Linked DNA regions of Homo sapiens: region 2 is linked to region 1. The links are contacts of gene promoters, found by promoter capture Hi-C in blood cells and fetal thymus (Javierre and others, 2016). All regions are on one chromosome and are shown on one strand. Each heading gives the region's core, a stretch centred on a gene start or on the middle of the fragment in contact. The rest is flanking DNA. Distances are from core to core; before and after follow the strand shown.

Region 1 (2,700 bases), core at 14-2,513:
CCGCAGGAGCCGCGCCGTCTTCCTAACCTCGCCTCGGCCTTCGCTCCACAGTGGAGAGTGGGAGCCTAGCTGTGCTTGATGCTGAATGCCTGTTTTGAGAGTGTGAGTGGGATCATCTACAGTAAATACTTGCAAAGCATGGCACTGTGGCTCTGGGGAGCTGGTACGCCTGTGCTGTAACCATGGTACTCAGTCCTTCCAAAGTGTTTATTAATCAAGCACCTGTCATGTGCCATTGAGCCCACGATGGGGAATGAGGACAGTCCCTGCCCCCATGAAGCTTGTGTCCTGTTGGGAGGACAGACAGGTGGCCCAGCAGTTGCAGCATGGTGTGTGCACACGTTTGGCTGGTGGAACCATGTTTCTACCACTCATGGTCAAAAAAAGCCCACCAAAGTCCTGGGAGTTCACATCTGTGTGATGATACGGCAACATTGTTTGTAATGGAAAGACTGGACACCCCCAGTGCCCATCAGTGGGGGAGTCATTAAATAAACTATGGTATGTGCACATAATGGGTGGTATGCAGCCCTTTGGAAAAATGTAGGTTTTCCAGGTCCTGGATATAGCAGCGTAAGATGGGAAATCACAGAATACCCATGTTGTGCCTGAGATGGCAGGTGGGGTACCCGTGGTACCCGGGAGGGTGGCAGGTGGGGCACCCATGTTCTACCTGGGGTGGCAGGTGAGCCCATAACCATTGTAGAGGCCAACATCCTCAGAGGCCTGAGTGTGGGGAGGTAGGCTTTGACTCCCTAGGGAGAGAGGGACACTTAGGAAACAGACGGGCCCTGGAAGTGGGACATGAAGAGTGCCCTGGCCATCCAGTGTAGGCTGAGATGCTAGGGGCACAGAAAGAAGAGATCTGCTGATGCCAGCCTTCCAACCATTTCCCAGCTTGGCCAAGAGCCAGCTCTGGTATTCGTGAAGGAACAGATCCTGGGTGAAGCTAGAGGGAAGGCCGCAGAGGCAAAAGGAGAGAGGAGCTAGGCCAGGGGTCAGCGACTGACCCTCGCGGCCAGTGTACAGGGGTTGCAACTGGGAGCCTAGGGGGCCCCAAGGCATCTCCAGGCCCAATCTACCTCTGGGCTTTTCTCAAGCTCTCCCTAGGATTACTGCGGTTTCCTCCTGGCGCCTCTCGTCTTGGACAGCCATGCCCCCCTCCATGCTGCACTAATGGCTCAGCCTGGGGCCCTAGGGACCTCTCCTACCCCCCAGACTGCTCTGTCGGCCCCCTTTCCCCCCTACTGCTGAAACCCAATCCTCTGCAGCAGCGCCGGCTCAGCACCGCCGGCTCAGCACCGCTCCGCAGCCCCTGCCTGCCACGGTCAGCTACGTCCCACCTGGTCTGCTGCGGAGTCCCCAGCCCAGTGCCTAGCCCAGTGGAGCCACCGCCTGTTCCTCGGGAAGGAACAGTGGGACCTGACCGGCCAGATCACCTCCTCCAATCCTGCCAGGCTAGTGCCTCCCTGCCTTCCAACCTTGGCTGTCTCCCACCCTCTCTTCTCCTCTCCTTGCCTGGCCTCCTGAATCCTATCTTAGCCTCCTTAGCCCCCTGACTGACTCTCTCTCGCTTCTTCCAAGCCTCTGTAGCTGGTTCCGCTCCTGGGTTCTGGCCATGAAGCCCACCTCAGGCCCAGAGGAGGCCCGGCGGCCAGCCTCGGACATCCGCGTGTTCGCCAGCAACTGCTCGATGCACGGGCTGGGCCACGTCTTCGGGCCAGGCAGCCTGAGCCTGCGCCGGGGGATGTGGGCAGCGGCCGTGGTCCTGTCAGTGGCCACCTTCCTCTACCAGGTGGCTGAGAGGGTGCGCTACTACAGGGAGTTCCACCACCAGACTGCCCTGGATGAGCGAGAAAGCCACCGGCTCATCTTCCCGGCTGTCACCCTGTGCAACATCAACCCACTGCGCCGCTCGCGCCTAACGCCCAACGACCTGCACTGGGCTGGGTCTGCGCTGCTGGGCCTGGATCCCGCAGAGCACGCCGCCTTCCTGCGCGCCCTGGGCCGGCCCCCTGCACCGCCCGGCTTCATGCCCAGTCCCACCTTTGACATGGCGCAACTCTATGCCCGTGCTGGGCACTCCCTGGATGACATGCTGCTGGACTGTCGCTTCCGTGGCCAACCTTGTGGGCCTGAGAACTTCACCACGGTGAGCTGACCTCCCTACCTATCCTGCCAGGGACCCAGAGAGCCGACCAGTCCCTGCCCAGCACCCACAATTCCCTAGCCAGCACAGGCTCCCCCAAAGCCAGGGGACCTCTTCCTTCCTACCAGCCATGGACTCCCCACCCCCCAGTGCCACTCCGTGCAGCCCAGGAAGCTGTCCTCCTTGGGGCTTTCTCTGTCTCCCAGCCCGAGGGGAGCATGTGAGGCCACACTGACCCCGGCTGGCCCTAGGCCTGAGGTCTGGCCCAGGGAGGCCCTGCTCCTGGGGCTGGGGGTCCTCCATGGTGGGACCATTCTGGGGCAGAAGACCCCTATCTCTGCCAGGAGGTGGGGGGGGCTTGCTTTCCCTCTGCCTTTTCAACATACTGCCAGCCCCGGAGGACAGCCACAGGGGCCCATTTCCTTTTCCTGCAGTTCCCAGAGAAACACAGAAAAACCTGTAGGCTGTGCCCTGGGCTTTGGTGGGGATTGGCGGGGTGGAGGAGCTGAGTTGATGGGCTCCCAAGAGCGTCCTGCAACATGTGCCCACTG
Region 2 (2,778 bases), core at 68-2,567, 700 kb before region 1:
GCACCCCAAAGAGGTGGACAGTCCTACTGCAGAGCACTCATAGGTGTGGATGTGTGAAAGGACTACTTAGGGCATATTCATGAGCTCAGCTCCAGGTAACATGTCCCAGTCCAGGGGAGCAACAACAGGACTTCACTATTTAATGATGGTTAATGATCTTCCTGGTCATGACAGCTAAAAAAGTAGACTCACGTATCCAGTTGTTCCAAGCTTAGTTTTCCAATAACTGAACTGAGTACCAAAAAACATTGTCCTTTAATATTTGCAACCACATTGACAAAAATAGTTTTTTTTAGAAGAAGTGATTTGACTTTGAAGTAAGAGCATATCAGTTGCAAAACTACACCTATTGAAGTTAAGTACATTTTCCAACTTGTGTCAATTCGGTACCATTAGCATAAATTCAAAAATGATATTGCATAAATTCAAAAGCCATTCTAAATTTATCAATATCAACTAAGAATTCTTCACATTTTTCTTGAAATTTTGCCAATTTACACAATGCTGTATATTACAATTAAAACCTCTGTATGTTGATTCTTGTGACAAAAGTATGTAGATTGTAATTATTTGTCAGTATTATGAAAATATTTAATTTGAAATGCTTATATTTATCTGGCTAGGTCACAAATGAGGTTTCATCTCCTTGGATATTCAAATTTAGCCCATTTATATGTAGTGTGGTATTGGTGAGAAAACACTGACTTTTTTATTTTTAATTATTGAATATTTGGGTTGAGAGTAGTGACTCATGCCTGTAATCCTAGCACTTTGGGAGTCCAAGGTGGGTGGATCACTGAACCCAGGAGTTCAAGACCAGCCTGGGCAATATAGAGAGAGGCTATCTTTACAAAAAAAAAAAAGTTTAATTAGCTGAGTGTGGTGGCAAAAGTCTGTAGTCCTGGCTACTCAGGAGGCTGGCGGGGGACGATCACTTGAGCCTGGGAAGTCAAGGTTGCAGTGAGCTATGATCATGCCACTACATGACCCTCCCACCTCAGCCTCCCAAAGTGTTGGGATTATAGGCTCAAGCCACCACTCTCAGACTTGGCCACAGAGCAAAACCTTGTCCCCAAAACAAATAATAATAATACTTATTGTTGTATATTTGGTAATCATGGCTTCTGTCTCAAGAAAATCTTGGAGTTAGTTAAAAGTACAGTAAATCTTAGGAGAACTCTTCTACAACCCTGACAATGAGCTTTGGTAAAGAAAAGATCATTAAATTCATTATCTTTCATTGCTTTCAACAGTTCCATAAAACCAGCAGTGATTCATAGCATTTCCACTTAAATACGGAATTAGTTTTAATGGCTGTAGCCATGAGACTTGCATAGAATAAATTTCAGAAAACTGAGCACAAATATCTTCAATATGTACCCTAAAGTGAAATGAAGCAACATTGGAAGCATCAATCTCTTGTTTTAGCATTCCAATAAATACCTCAGTCACACCAGCCACATGGCAAGTGTTCCTAAACCTGTGGCTGGTGGCTACCATATTGGATATTGCAGGCAGAGCATGTGTTACCAATTATGTGAGTAAAAACTAAAACTAAAAATGAACAAATTTTTGTGTTTGTAAATGCATGGAATATTTCTAGAAGGGAAAAACAAGAAACTTATAACAGTGTTTGCCTGTGAGGAGAGGATCTGTCCAGCTGGGGAAAACAGAGGCAGGAAAACTGTACTCCCTTTGTACTTTTAAATTTTTATAACTTGTGGATAATTTGTCTATTAAAATATAAAAAAACTTTAAAAACTATTTTTTGAGACAGGGTCTTGCTCTGTCGTTCAAGCTGGAGAGCAGTGGCTCAATCATGGCTCACTGCAGCCTCAACCTCCTGTGCTCAAGCGATCCTCCCACCTCAGCCTCCCAAGTAGCTTGGACCACAGGTGCATGCCATCATCCTAGGCTAATTTTTGTATTTTTTTCTAGAGACAGGATTTTGTCACATTGCCCAGGCTGATCTCAAACTTCTAGGTTCAGCAATCCACCCACCTTGGACTCTCAAAGTGCTGAAATTACAGGCTTGAGCCACTGTGCTTGGCCTTAATACTTTTAAAATCAGAAAGCAAAGCAACAGCTTTTCTTTTGTCTTCTTTTCTTTTCTCTTTTTTTGAGACAAAGTCTTATTCTGTTGCCCAGGCTGGAGTGCAATGGCATAATCAGAGCTCACTGCAGCCTCCATGTTCTAGGCTCTATTGATCTTCCTGCCTCAGCCTCCCAGTAGCTAGAACTACAGGACCACCTCACCCAGCTAGTTTTTATTATTATTATTTTTTTTTTCAGGAGAGAGGAGGTTTTGTTTTGTTGCCCAGGCTGGTCTTGAACTTCTGAGCTCAAGTGATCCTCCTACCTTACCTTTCCAAACTGCTGAGATTACAGGTGTGAGCCACCGCGCCTGGTCCCAATAGCATTTCTGAAAGCTTACTCTGGCTGCTGTGTGGAGAGTGGATAAAAGGGAATAAATCTCAGCAGGAGATAATTGTGATTGTCCGGGTGAGAGACGAATGTGGCAGGGACAAAACTGGAGGCAGTGAAGATGGGAAAACAAAGTCCAGAAATACCTCAGGACTAAAGCACCAGGGTTTGGTGATTGATAAGATGTTGGGGTCGAGGTCAACAGAGAGGGGTGAATCCCAGGTTTCTGGCTTGAACAGCTGTAGACATGGTTTTGATCCTCAGGGAGAGAGAGACTCAGGAGGGCAGTGAGGAGAGAAGTGTGAGGTGTCTGTGGAACATGCCAGTGGAGATGTTGACTGAACAGGGCTGGTG

The links. Contacts are between HindIII fragments. The CHiCAGO score rates a contact against its expected background, and 5 or more counts as called.
Region 2: a fragment that was not itself captured here is called in contact with the fragment with the promoter of ASIC3 in region 1 in 1 of 17 cell types (total CD4 T cells); the score reaches 7.0 in total CD4 T cells.

The regions. Positions count from the first base shown.
Region 1 is chr7:151,047,268-151,049,967 of GRCh38, forward strand. ASIC3 (acid sensing ion channel subunit 3) reads left to right here and starts at 1,264. Exons shown (of 11, transcript NM_004769.4): 1 at 1,264-2,152. The coding sequence starts at 1,619. It overlaps ABCB8 (ATP binding cassette subfamily B member 8), which reads left to right. Exons shown (of 16, transcript NM_007188.5): 16 at 1-515. The HindIII fragment of the contact is 11,911 bases long and covers 279-2,700 here.
Region 2 is chr7:150,343,853-150,346,630 of GRCh38, forward strand. All of the region lies in intron 2 of LOC107986858 (a long non-coding RNA gene), which reads left to right. Among named protein-coding and RNA genes, the nearest start is that of RARRES2, 3.6 kb to the left of the region's middle. The HindIII fragment of the contact is 2,219 bases long and covers 209-2,427 here.